Linked DNA regions of Homo sapiens: all the other regions are linked to region 1. The links are contacts of gene promoters, found by promoter capture Hi-C in blood cells and fetal thymus (Javierre and others, 2016). All regions are on one chromosome and are shown on one strand. Each heading gives the region's core, a stretch centred on a gene start or on the middle of the fragment in contact. The rest is flanking DNA. Distances are from core to core; before and after follow the strand shown. Region 1 holds the start of UBE2U (ubiquitin conjugating enzyme E2 U). Region 2 has its middle 27 kb from the start of ROR1. Region 3 overlaps LOC105378771 (a long non-coding RNA gene).

Evidence for each region. Contacts are between HindIII fragments. The CHiCAGO score rates a contact against its expected background, and 5 or more counts as called.
Region 2: a contact is called between a fragment that was not itself captured here and the fragment with the promoter of UBE2U in region 1, in 1 of 17 cell types (fetal thymus). The highest score is 5.4, in fetal thymus.
Region 3: a fragment that was not itself captured here is called in contact with the fragment with the promoter of UBE2U in region 1 in 2 of 17 cell types (M0 macrophages and M2 macrophages); the score reaches 5.8 in M0 macrophages.

What each region holds. Positions count from the first base shown.
Region 1 is chr1:64,201,627-64,206,413 of GRCh38, forward strand. UBE2U (ubiquitin conjugating enzyme E2 U) reads left to right here and starts at 1,997. Exons shown (of 10, transcript NM_001366232.2): 1 at 1,997-2,490; 2 at 4,013-4,094. The coding sequence starts at 2,425. The HindIII fragment of the contact is 16,836 bases long and covers 1-4,787 here.
Region 2 is chr1:63,744,459-63,748,649 of GRCh38, forward strand. No RefSeq gene overlaps it. Among named protein-coding and RNA genes, the nearest start is that of ROR1, 27 kb to the right of the region's middle. RefSeq lists an enhancer at 1,820-2,114. The HindIII fragment of the contact is 167 bases long and covers 2,450-2,616 here.
Region 3 is chr1:63,700,357-63,704,924 of GRCh38, forward strand. The region is part of intron 1 of LOC105378771 (a long non-coding RNA gene); the gene reads left to right. Among named protein-coding and RNA genes, the nearest start is that of ROR1, 71 kb to the right of the region's middle. The HindIII fragment of the contact is 1,394 bases long and covers 713-2,106 here.

The DNA of each region.
Region 1 (4,787 bases), core at 747-3,246:
GCCCCGTCCGGGAGGGGGGAGAGGGGGTCAGCCCCCTGCCCGGCCAGCCGCCCCGTCCGGGAGGTGAGGGGCGCTTCTGCCCGGCCGCCCCTACTGGGAAGTGAGGAGCCCCTCTGCCCGGCCACGACCCCGTCTGGGAGGTGTGCCCAGCGGCTCATTGAGAACGGGCCATGATGACAATGGCGGTTTTGTGGAATAGAAAGGCGGGAAGGGTGGGGAAAAAATTGAGAAATCGGATGGTTGCCGGGTCTGTGTGGATAGAAGTAGACATGGGAGACTTTTCATTTTGTTCTGTACTAAGAAAAATTCTTTTGCCTTGGGATCCTGTTGATCTGTGACCTTACCCCCAACCCTGTGCTCTCTGAAACATGTGCTGTGTCCACTCAGGGTTAAATGGATTAAGGGCGGTGCAAGATGTGCTTTGTTAAACAGATGCTTGAAGGCAGCATGCTCGTTAAGAGTCATCACCACTCCCTAATCTTAAGTACCCAGGGACACAAACACTGCGGAAGGCCACAGGGTCCTCTGCCTAGGAAAACCAGAGACCTTTGTTCACTTGTTTATCTGCTGACCTTCCCTCCACTATTGTCCTATGACCCTGCCAAATCCCCCTCTGCGAGAAACACCCAAGAATGATCAATAAAATAAATAAATAAATAAATAAATAAATAAATAAATCAGAGCATGACACTCTCCTGTTTAAACCCATTAAATGGATTCCCATAGCTATTCAAATAAAGCCCAAACTTCCTACTGTATAGTGCCCATCTTTATCACACCCCTCCCAGGCTCCTCCACAACCTCCCTGACCTTCCCTTGTTCCCTTTTCAAGACAAGCTCTTTCCTGACTCAAAAATATCTTGTTTTCCTCTTCCTAGAACTCTCTGCCCTCAATATTTCATGTAGCAGGCTCCTTCTCATCTTTCATGTATGAGTTCAAAACCCCATTCCTTACAGAGGCATTTCCTGACTACCATTTCTAATCCTTAATGACCTACCCCAATCTCTATCATGGTACTGTTTTATTATTGTCCACATAACGTTTATCACCATCTGAAATCATGATTTTTGTTTTGCATACTTGTTTATTGTATATTGGAGCCATAAAGACATTTACTTCATTTGAATCTTTCAAGTAAAAAAAAAGTATTTAATAAATATTTGTAAAATGAATGGACTAAATGAACATCCGGATTCTATAAAATTAGTAAGTAAAAAGTAAAAAAAGAAAGTATTCTGAACAAAGATGCCAGGCTTTGTAGTTGGCGCTGGCAATGGAACCGTGTCTTTCAGTAGTTCCCACTCTGGTGAAGACAATAGACAATTGTGATGCCGTATGGCAAATGTTAACTAGGAGGCAAATAGAAGGTCCTGTGGGATCACAAAAGAAAGGATCCCTTAAAGAGTCGTTAAAATCTGAAGGATGAGTGAGTGAAGGGGAAATGAGGGCTGAAGGGGTGGAAGGAATGTGGTAAACTCCTAGGTAGAAGGAACAGCAGGTGCGAAACTGTGCGGGAAGAGATGGGAATCAGAGAAATTTTAAGCAGTTCCCTGTTCCTGGAGCACTTTCCCAGGGTGATTGTAGGGTTTGATGACATAATAGCATGCACACTACTGTGAATGGTAACTCGCCATGTAAGTTAAGATATTGTTATGCAGACCTGTACCTACCAGTCACTTACTATATCTTTTGATAGTCAAAGAAAAAGGAAGGATAATTTCGAAGAAAGACTTCGTGGGACGGCTTCTGTGACTTACATGCTGGGTCCTGGGACCTCACCCCATCCTCTACACTAGTTTTGTACAGTCCATGTTCGTGGCCTGAGAAGGCGTGGTGTTGCCTTGACCACGAATCTCATTGGCCTTTCAAAGGGGAAACTGTTGTAGGATTGGCTGTGGAGATAGCAAGAGGCCTGCCCCCTGTCGCTGATTGGGTGAGAGCGGCCAACCCCCTGCCTCCGTCTCTCGGCGGCCCCACGGGGGCCTGTTGGTTGGCAACCGATTTGCTTCCTCCGGTGCGTGGCTGCGGGGTTGCACCTGTGAAGCGAAGACAACCTGCTAGGACCCTGATAGGCGTACACCTCTCACTCCCACTCACGCGCCGACGACATGGGCTTGTCTCCGTTACTCATCCAAGTTTGTCTTGAGACTGGGCTGTGAGCCGGCACTGCAGTGAAACGCCGCAGATGAGGAAGTGCCCAAGTCTTCCTTCGGGAAGTTCTCGTTTAGAGGAGTCAGGAGAAAAAGTCATTGTTATATCCCAACTTTAGAAGCCGCTTATCTTGGTACCGTTCTGAGGTTCTAGAAAGCAAGTAACTTATATCAGTTTACTAAGTGTGGGAAAGTGACCCATAACTTCAAACATCTGCCTCAGAGTAAACCTGAGGCATTTGGGGACAAGTGTCAGACCCTCCGCTGCCTATCATGCACGGCAGAGCTTACCTCTTGCTGCACAGAGACTTCTGTGATCTCAAGGAGAACAATTATAAGGTAAGTACTGGGCACGTGGAGAGATGTGTTTCATTGTGCAATAATTTTTAAGAGGCAGTTTAACCCATTTTATTCTATAAGTAGTAATTTAGTTAAACCTGATTTGCCACTACAGTATTGTTATTTAATAAATCCATTTCACTGAAGTAATGTGTTTCATATTAATAACAATTATTATTACTTCAAAATAATAATGCTTAACAATATTGAACATATTATGCAGAGTAATTTATGTGGATCTAGGCACTGAATATCAGGGTCTGTCATGTAGTTAGTGACTAGTAGGTGCAGGCTTATGCTCATTAATTATAATACTATACAATAAGTAGTATTTCATTTTACTTACCAAAAACCTAAGCCTCAGAAATATTCTGTAAAGATTTTGCCCCATGATTCCATTACAGGGTTTTTGGACTTCAAAGCCCTAGTTCTTAATTCCTGTGTTCCACTGCTTACTGTCTAGTGTACTTTTACCAGCATGACACATAAATGCCTTCCCTTTATAGTTTTAACACAAAAGAAGCAATGTCCTTGGGCTTAAACGCCACCAATGAGGTTATCAATGTCCATGGCTGCCACAGGCTGATTTACGGAAAATGAAAAATGGAAGAGGGGGCGAAGAGGGAGTGCTTAAGAGAAAGAACAGAAAGAAAGCTGTCCATGAAAGGTATAGAGTGCTTCCCACAGTTGCTTCAGGTGTAGTTCAGTGGCATTGTTCATTTTTTACCTCTGCTATAAAAGTACTGCATTCACTGGAGATGTTAGGAACAATTATGGAGTCCAACAGCGAACATTCCTGGGGCATGGACCTAACATTTGATATTGTTTCTGCTCATCCTGAGCTCTGTAGTTCTCTGTTGAAAGAGAATCCAATGAAGGAATATGTAAATATAGATAATAGAGAGACAGGGCTCACCCAGACAAGCACTAACATACTTAATAACTATGTGGATGCTCAGAAGTGTTTTTATGTGTTTGTAAGTGTGTTACTTAACGTAATTCATAAGGTTTTCTATGAAATACATTCTTGTCCCTCCATTGGAACAACTCCTCAAGTATAGGAAAACTTTGCTTTTATATACAAGTGTAATTTTGGATTTTTTCTTAATGAAAATGTTCCCACTTCATGCCTTTCATATAGCATTCATATAGCTCTAAAATGTTTTGAAGAAACATGCACTTTCCAACTATTTCTTTCTTTTAAAATTTGAATATTAAATTGGTTATTGATTTACACAAACAGTATATAAGCCACACATTCTAATCTTGACTCTCTAGTCCCACTTGTGATTTCCACACTTATGATTTATTTTTAATTACTATTGCATATGTTTTCTGGGATCTATATTAACTTCCGTGAAATAAGACATGTAACACTTCCCCAGAGCAGCAAATAAATAAACTTATCAAGGAAAGAAAATTTAGAGTTTTTAGAATTCAGTGTGACCTGGTATATGATTTTCAAAACTTCAATAAATACTTAATAAGTTTTTTCTGATTTAATTTTGTTTTTAACTTCAAGGGTATCACTGCTAAGCCTGTAAGTGAAGATATGATGGAATGGGAAGTTGAAATTGAAGGTCTACAGAATTCAGTTTGGCAGGGTTTGTATTTTCAAAACCAATCTATTTTTTAAAAAAGTCTTTATACCATTATTAGCCCATCCTCTTTTTATGTAGGATAAGGTCGCATTATATAAATTTCCTGAAATTCTTCTTCATATGCATAAGTTTGCATTATACCAGTTGTCTAAAATTCTAAAAATATTCCCATTTTTTTTATTTATGACTTTTTTGCCATGTGTCAACATAGATGGAAATTTGGGGTATTTTTCTTTATGCCAAATCTTAATTTTATTACATTTTTAAGAAGCAGACACAATAGAGCATATCAATTGAGAGAATATCGTCTGCCTTCCGTGAGATCAGGGAATAACTATCAAAATTCCTATTGGCTTCAAAACCCCACAGTTACTTCTCATTTTTTCCTTTATGATTTTCCCCCAAATTTTCATAAATCAAAAAATCTCAAGAACACTAAGCCACTATAAACTTTAATGCTCATGTTTTCTTTCAATTATGGATTAATAAGATAGATTCCTTGAGTGAGGTAGGGGAGACAAACACATCAGCTGATAATTACAATAAAATATACATTATTATGGATTTTGAACAGAATGCTAAAGAGGAAGAGGATTAGTTAATTATGCCTGAGGGAGTCAGGAATGTCTTCCCAAGGAGATCACATTTGAGTTGAGTCCTGAAGAATCTGCCAGGTTCAGAAGAAGGATAAGGAAA
Region 2 (4,191 bases), core at 1,283-3,782, 460 kb before region 1:
ATATTGGGAAATGCCACTGCCTTTCATCTGTTTTTGGGACTGGGATGGGTTTCCATGTCAGATTGATTGCAAAAAATGGCTGCAATTCTTCAAGTACTTTGCACTGTGACTTTGCCAGCAACTCCATTAAGAAATGGAGTCTATTTCCTACCCCTTGAATCTGGGCTGTCTTGTGACTTACTTTTAGCCAGTAGAATGTGGCAGAGGTAGTGGTATATCGGTTCCAAGCCTAAGGTCTTAAACCAAGACCTCTTGGTCAGTTCGTTTTTTTGAGTTTAGTCTCACTCTGTTGCCCAGGCTGGAGTGCAATGGCGTGATCTCGGCTTACTGCAATCTCCATCCCCCAGGTTCAAGTGATTCTCTTGCCTCAGCCTCCCAAGTAGCTGGGATTATAGCCTGCCACCGCGCCCAGCTAATTTTTGTACTTTTAGTAGAGACAGGGTTTCACCATCTTGGCCAGGCTGGTCTTGAACTGCTGGCCTCGTGATCCACCCGCCTCAGCCTCCCAAAGTGCTGGGATTACAGGCGTGAGTCAGCGCACCTGGCCATCTTGGTCAATTCTAAGATCAAGAGTTCTTGAACATTTCCACTTTCTTTTGCCCCTCTGCCTTTATTAGGAGAACAATCCTGAACTAGCCTGCTGGAAGATGAGACATGACATGAAGCAGAGATGCATATTCCCAGCTGAGGCCATCCTAGATCAGCCAACTCTGGCAGACCTTCCAGCTGTGGGCAGTCACATAACAAGCTCAGCTGCATACTTTGAGCCCATCCTGGACCAGCATGGTTGCTCAGCCAGCTCCTAGATGCATGAGAAATAGTAAATGGCTGTGGTTTAAAGACACTAGACATTGGGATGGTTTGTTATGTAGCATTATCGTAGCAATAGAGAGCTGACAAAAGCACCAGAGGAAAATCTCATCAGTGACAGGAAGTCTGCTCCCCTCTATCATGCCCTCTTTCTTATGCTTGTGGCTTTTGCATTTCCTTCTAATAGTGGCTGCCCCACTCTCACCCAGCCCCACAGAAACTCTGCAGTAAGGCCACTGGTTACCTACTGGGGAAAGGTGGCCAATGCTTACATTACAAACACACAGAAGAAACCATACTCATGTTTTCTCCAGCCCAGAGCAAGTCAGCAACATGTCAGAAATCCAGACCTTCCTCCTTTGTTCCTTTTGTGTTTGCACTTTGGTTCGCTTTCCACCCAATTCCCATCATGGCTCCTCTTTCTACTTAAAGACGGTTGTATCAAAGGGTTTCCAATCAAGAAATCTGCATTTGCACAGGTTTGGATTCACACTCTGGCTCAGCCTCCTACTAGCTGTGTGCTCTCAGAAAAGTCGCTCAACTCATTGAGTCTGTTTCTTTGTACATAAAATGGGGATGATAATTCCTACCTATAGGGTTATTGTGAGGATCAACTGAAGTATGTACTTAGGATGTATTAAATAATACATCAATAAATGGTAGTTTTGACTAATTCGTGGGCCCCATCCTCTCCAGTTCTCAACTCTGGGGCTCCTTTCAGAATTCTAGTTTGGGTTCAAACCACCTGCAAGCAGAATCCCATAGAATCTAGTCTCTTAGGACCTGCTCTAATCTCTAGTCCCTGCAGGCACCCAGGCTGATGTATTAGTGTCCCCATGCAAGTACCCTTTACAACAGAAAAGTGTCAAAACCCTTTTGCAAGTGGGTCAGTGGGCTATCCTGCCTCCCCAAACCCCAAGCTGTGCTGACCGCCTGCAATTATTTCCACATGATGCAATGCTCCCCCTCCCCTTGGGAGCAGTATTAGGTTTCCTCCCATTCCCATACACTTCAGAGACTGCTACCCTCTCACATTTCAGACGCTGACCTGCTCCTTTGCACTTTTCCCCTCTGCTTGTCTGGAGACCTGCATAATGAAATTCAGACAGTGGTGACTAACTTCCCCTCAGAACAAGGTGGCGTGGGCTGGCAGGGAGCATGCTTCTCCCAAGGCTGGGGCATAAAGCTGAGTGAGAGGAAGCTTGGTGACTTCATTGCTTCGTGTCAGATCAGAGGTTCCTCGCTCTGAAGGGAAAGGCAAACACTTTTGATCTGACTATGGGAGGCGGGGAGAATACATGCGATCTATAAAATGAAAGAGGCTTTCCAAAAACAACAAGGCTGAATCATAAGAACTTACATTTATGGAACACTCTGCCGTTTCTAAGGCTCTTTTCACACGCATTGTTTCATTTGACTCTCACAGCAGCCCTGGGAGGCACAGGGGACCAGGATTAACATCTCTGTTAGACCAACATTCCCGCTAGACCTTCCAGAAGAGTGCTGAGGTCACACAGTAAGGAGGTGGCAGAGACTAGGCCCACCTGCAGGCCTCTGGACCCCACACCCAGCACTCCGGCTCTGTGGTGCCGCCTTCTCTCTTGCACTTCAGACCATGAGTAAGGCCCAACATGTTTAAAGCTTTCCTGTAGAAACACCCCTTATGGCAGCAAACTTACTACCTCCGATGCAAACTTACTACCAAATCTTGCGTCTTATCTAAAAATTTCATTTGAACTATGAAGTTTGTTATATTAATTGCCACATTTATATTAAATATATTTTATATTCTTAAGGTAAAGGTGAAGCTTTTTATTTTTGCTTCCCTTAGATAAAATAAATGTTTCAGGAAGATGGCTTTGCTTAGCCTTGGGTGACTTCAGGAGCCCGTGGCACCAGGTTCTAGATGCTTTCAACCAGTGTGGAAGATGAGTGTGTGGCCTACATGCGACTGCCTGGAGAAATGCTTTATTGAGCCCCCACCTCAGTAAGGTGGTTTTTTAGTTGGTATTGTTGACTGAGGCTTCTTTTAAACCATATGTCCCAAACATTCCATGCTGCATTCTTTGACAATGGAAAGACACATGTTTGTAAGGTGTGTTTAGTATCTTGAGAGGCTGGAGGCAGGAGCTTTCGTGCATTCCCAGATGCACTGAGTGCACTTGCAGAGCAGAAAACATGTGCTTTAAGCAGGAATCAGTGATGGAAGCAGGCACAGCCAGAAGACCAGCTGTGTGTGGAGCTCAGCCGAGGGGTCGGAACACAAGATTTAGGGGCTCGGAATTGTTGTAACTCTATGCCATACCTTACGTCACCCTCCAGGCAGCTCTCTCTTGGAAGAGTCTTGGGGAGGAGTCCCACTGTCAGCCAGGGAGCATTCTCCTCTCTGTGCCTTTCAGGAGGTCCAAGATCTTTAAATTGTAACTTGGACTCCACAGGGCCCTGCGGTGCAAGCCTCAGCTGACTCTGGCTAGCCTTGCCAACTCCTGCTGTCCATCCCAGAGCTGGCTCAGCACTTGCTACTGGCGTTTTGCTTCAGAGAGGAATCCTGGCACCACCAATCTGCAAAGTTAGTTGAGACAATTATAGCACACTTATCAGAACAGATGGGATCAAAATCTCAAGTCAAAGGTGAGTGAGGTGACAATCATGAGGGCCGTCTCCTTTGACATGGGTTTGAAGGCAGTGGGAATATATTCCAAAGTGGTCTTACAATTGTTTGCAATTACAGACTAGGGATTTGCTGAAGGAAAGAGAGTCATCCAAGAGGACAATCTCAACAGCTAACATGTACAATGGTTTCTTATGTGTGCCAGACACTGGCCTTAGCATCTTAAGTGCATTTGTTTATTTACACCTCACAACAGTCTTACAAGGTAGGTACTAGTGTGACCTGTCCCGTTTACACAGATAAGAACATGAAATCACAGAGACTGTAAGTAACTTGTCTAAGGTAAACAGCTAATACGTGGCAGAGCTGGGATTTGAACCCAGGGCCTCCTTACTTGTAACTACCATGCTATACTGCTTCTCACTGCCTGCCCAATGCACTCACAAGTAACAGTAAATGAACTTTCTTTAGCCCTATTTTATGCCAAGCCATGTGCTGAATGCTTGACACGCCCTATCTCTCACAGTTCTGACAAGATTCCTGGAAAGGAAGTACTATCATCACTTCCATTTTCTAAATTACTCCCAGCTTCAAATGAGGAAACTGAGGCTCAGAGATGTTAACTTGCCAGGAGTTATATACCTAGTAAATGACCCTAAAGCCGATACTCTTAATCATTCTATTTTGCTGCCTTCTATATAAACTGCATAAACTGTGACTAGCTCAAAATAAATAAGAGGTTGTTTTTTTTTCTTTTTTTTCTTTAGAGA
Region 3 (4,568 bases), core at 160-2,659, 500 kb before region 1:
CATCCTTCTTGACTCCATCTCCATCCTTCTCCACTCACTCTGCACCAGCCACCGTGGTCTTCCCAACTTGAACACCCTAAGCATTACCCCTGGAGCCTCTGCTTCCACTCCTCCTCTTGCCTGGGAACTCTTTCTTCCTCCATCTCCTTCAGGACTCATCAGAGAGCATCTCACTGGCCATCCTTCATAAAACGGCACCCCCCACAAACTACTATTCCCTTATCATGGTGATTTTTCTTCTTACAACTTAGCTTCAGACCCATTACTACTTATTTTTTATTTACCATCTGTCTGTCTCCTACAAAATCAAGCTCCATGAAGACAGGTTTTCATTTTCATTTTTTTCACTGCCGTCTGCTCAGTTCATAAAACAGCCAGGCCCCTAGTAGGCCTTTAATACTTGGTCAATAGATGTGGGACTTGACCTTCAATTTGGCCTGTTGTCCATATATATAGTGAATTAGGTAGAAAGCTATCATTAATCACTTTACACAGATGAGGAAACTGAAATTCAGAGAGGTTAAGTGACTTGCCCAGGGTCACTAACTAGTTAGAGAGAAGGTCATAACCAGAACCCAGATATCCTGAATCTCAATATTATGCAAATGATGTGAGCCATTTGTGACTCCTTAATTCTTCAGCCCATTTCCCAAAGGACACCATGTTGTGTTGCCTTAAAGACTGCCTTTAAATGGAGCACTGACTCCATTTAAGCTTGATTGATTCTGCTCACAGACTTCTCAGAAATTGGAATTTAGAGGTGATAGGCAGAGACTAGTGCTTTTTAGTACAAACCACTTTTCGGTTTGTCCAGCGTCTACTCTGAACTCTGTTTATTCCAAGTCTAATGCAGAAAATACATGCACTAAAAAACAAATTTAAAATAAATGATAAGTGAGTTAGAAACTGCCTGGGGATGTCAGGAACTTATGCACCGTGCTATGTGGGTTTTGAGTAAATATTTGCTTTGCAAGCCAGGAAGCAATATGTATTTACCAAGGCAGTCTCAGGCTGAAGGGCACACATGCTACTTCTGGGGCTTGGCACGATCTCTCCAGAGAAGTGTGCACGTGGGCCTAAGCACCACGGCGTTCTGCAGAGAGGAGGCAGCTTGGCATCAGAAACCCGGGTTCTCATTTGAATTCTGCCCCTCTCTAGTTGGGCAAATTTGGGCAACTTACTGCTCTCTCTGGGCCTTTTTAGCCCTTAACATCCTATGACTTTAAGACAGACCTGAAAGACTTGTATCAAAATAAAAATAGTTAGAAAGAATAATAAGACCTAGTATTTGATAGTACGACAGGGTGACTATAGTCAATAATAATTTCATTGAACATTTAGAAATAACAAAAAGAGTATAAATAACAAAAAAGAGAACATTTAGAAATAACAAAAAGAAATAACAAAAAGAGTACACAGATGAGGAAACTGAAGTTCAGAGAGGTTAAGTGACTTGCCCAGGGTCCCCAACTAGTTAGAGAGGAGGTCATAACCAGAACCCAGGCATCTTAACACAAGACATAAATACTTGGGGGGATGGATACCCCCTTTTCCATGACGTGATTATTAAACATTGCATGCCTGTATTGAAGTATCTCATGTACCTCATAAATATATGCACCTACTATGTACCCACAGAAATAAGAAATAATAAAATAATTAAAAGTAAAAATTAAGAAATAGTTTTCTGGTCAGGAAATGGTTCAGACGTGAGAGGGCGGGGAAGAAGTTGTGAGTGCTTTCCTGTCTCTTTCTTCTTCTATCTTTTCCATTGAGTTAACTCTTTTCTCTCTTGTTTTTACTCTCAATTCAAGCATGTCTTTCTCTAAGCACTTGTAACCAATGCCAGAACTTCCTGAGGGCCTTTGCTGTGTTCTTCAACAACAACTAGTACCTGTGCCGAAAACAATCTGTGCTTTCAGGATAAGTGTTTGGCTATGTGGGGTGATGCGGTGGGCAGTGCCTAGAGGTTCCTCTGTCTAAAACATCACTCATCAGATCACACAGTGGGAAAGATGCTCACTGAACACATTCACTCAGCAGCTGCATATTGAGCTCCTTCCAGAGGGATATGTCAGCCAACAGAGCTCAGCCTGGCCCTCGTGAAGCTTAAGGTCTGGCGATGGAGAAATGGTTAGGGAATCAGCCCTAGTTCATGCTCCCGTGAAACTATTACAGGAAGCTGTAGCCACAGGAGGGGCACCTCCTTCCAATCTCAGTCTTGGCGAAAACTCTGGCAAACCTTTCCAAGGTATAATATGTGGCTTCTAAAACAAGATCTGAAATTATTCAGATAATTTCAGATAATAACTTCAGAGAGCTGAAGTTATTCAGGCAAAGGTGAGGAGGGAGAAAGTGTTCCGGGCTGAAGGTATACGTGTGTGTAAATGCAGAGGCCAGGCTGGGGGTGGATGGATTCAAAGAAGGCAGAGAGCAGGGGGGCTGGAGTGGGAGAGGGAGGCAGGAGATGAAATTAGAGAGGAGAGGGGGTGGGCTGGGTGTTGCCTAGAGCCTTGTGAGCACTTGAAAGAGTTTGGGCTGGCCAGGCACGATGGCTCATGCCTGTAATCCCAGCACTTTGGGAGGCTGAGGCAGGTGGATCACCTGAGGTCAGGAGTTCGAGACCAGCCTGGCCCACATGGTGAAACCCCGTCTCTACTAAAAAAACAAAAAACAAAAAAAACAAAAATTAGCTGGGTGTGGTGACACGTGCCTGTAGTCCCAGCTACTCGGGACGCTGAGGCAAGAGAATCGTTTGAACCTGGGAGGCAGAGGTTGCAGTGAGCCGAGACTGTGCCATTGCACTCCAGCCTGGGCTACAGAGCCAGACTCCGTCTCAAAAAAAAAAAAAAAAAAAAAAATAGTTTGGGCTTTGTGCCCAGGGCAGTGGGCAGTTCCTGGAGCTTGGGAATGTCACATTCAGATTTGTACTTTAGCAAGGTCACTCCTCACCTCTGCAGAGTGTACAGCCCCTCTCTGGAGGGAGGCAAGGCTGGAGAACCAGGGAATGGGTGACCGGGTGAGAGAAATCATAGAGCAGAGGAATCTTTTGATTCCAAGAGCAGGTCCAGCTGTGGAGCTTCCAGAGCAGGTTTCGTCTGCTGTTCTTTCTCAGACCCCTGTGGTTCCTTTTCTCCATGTGGCCACAGCATTCTCAAACTTGATTTTAATACATTCTGGGGTTTTGTCACATTAGAACAATGGGATACAACCCCTTTGAGCATGAGAACTGTTTCTTAACGTAAAAGACTTCACCCCCACGTCACGGTTCTGGTGCTTTTAGTATCTGTTAATTGAGAAAATAACTAAGGAACAAAAGCCTCCAGGAGATGGAGGCACACTTGAGAATTACCCACGTCTATATGGGAGCCAGGATTTAACCAGTCTGTTGACATGGCTGTTGTAACGTATGCATCTGTGGAGCCATCTGAAAGAACTCTGCACCCCCCACCCCCAAGGGGTTGGGAACCGTTGCGCTGGAACATGTGTGTTAAGAAGCCACATAGACATCTGTCCCCAGAGTGCAGTGCATGGCTGCCTTCTCTGTAAACCGTGGGGTGCATAAACTCAGCTGGTTCTAATTGCACAGGGCATGCCATATTGTTGCCCGATGTAATGTCAATTTTTATTTATTTGTGTTTGTGAAAAGCAGGGCTGATTAGACCACTTAAAACTGCACAGGCTGGTTAGAGCCAGGCTGGCGTTAGTGATTTCAGCTGCCCTCCCCAAAGTCATCAGCGCTCCCAGCTCTCAGCCTCCCTCTGAGAATATAAAATAGGGGCCTTGTGCTATCATGATTTCTATTTCATCCTGACTCTTATAAACTACCATATAAAAAGCAGCCGCTGATGGTTTTTTTACATTTCAATTTCATTTTGAGGCTTGGAAAATCACAAAATAAAAATAGCCCTGAGAGTGGAAAGTTTGGGGGAGTTTGTTTAGCTTTCTTTGAAATATACTTTGTGAAGAAATGTCAGTCATGAGATCTCTCTTGGTGGAGTGCTTTACTGTTGGTGTAATTTTTTTACATCGCTTTCTCCTGTGTAATCCTAAGGGAGACCCTGTGAGGTGTGAATGATTACTATCCTCATTCTGCAAATGAGACAGAAGCTCAGAGAGATGAAAAGACTGGCCTGGGCCAAGATGGCATGACCGGGAATGGCAGAGTCAGTCCAGGTAAATCCTCACCCCAAATCCTGGCCTCCCCTTACAATCTTACGTCTCTCCATGCCTGGTTCCTGCCTTCCTCCTTCCTCAGGTGTCCAGACCATGTCTGGACAAACATAGGCTCTGGCTTAGTCACCAGGCAACTTCCTTCCTGCCAAGAAACCTACTGCTCGGTATAAGACTATTTACTTACAGATCCTCTGGGTCCCCTTGCAGGTGGCCAGCTCCTTGAGGACAGGGCATTTGACTTTGTCAACCCTGTGTCCTTAGGACCCAGAAGAGGGTTTAGTACATAGTAGATATTTGGTTAATGTCCTCCAGATGGAAGCATCATTGAATAAGAAAGGTTGTTTTTTTTTTTAATCATTCTATTTCATTCCATTTTGGTCCTGATTATAAAT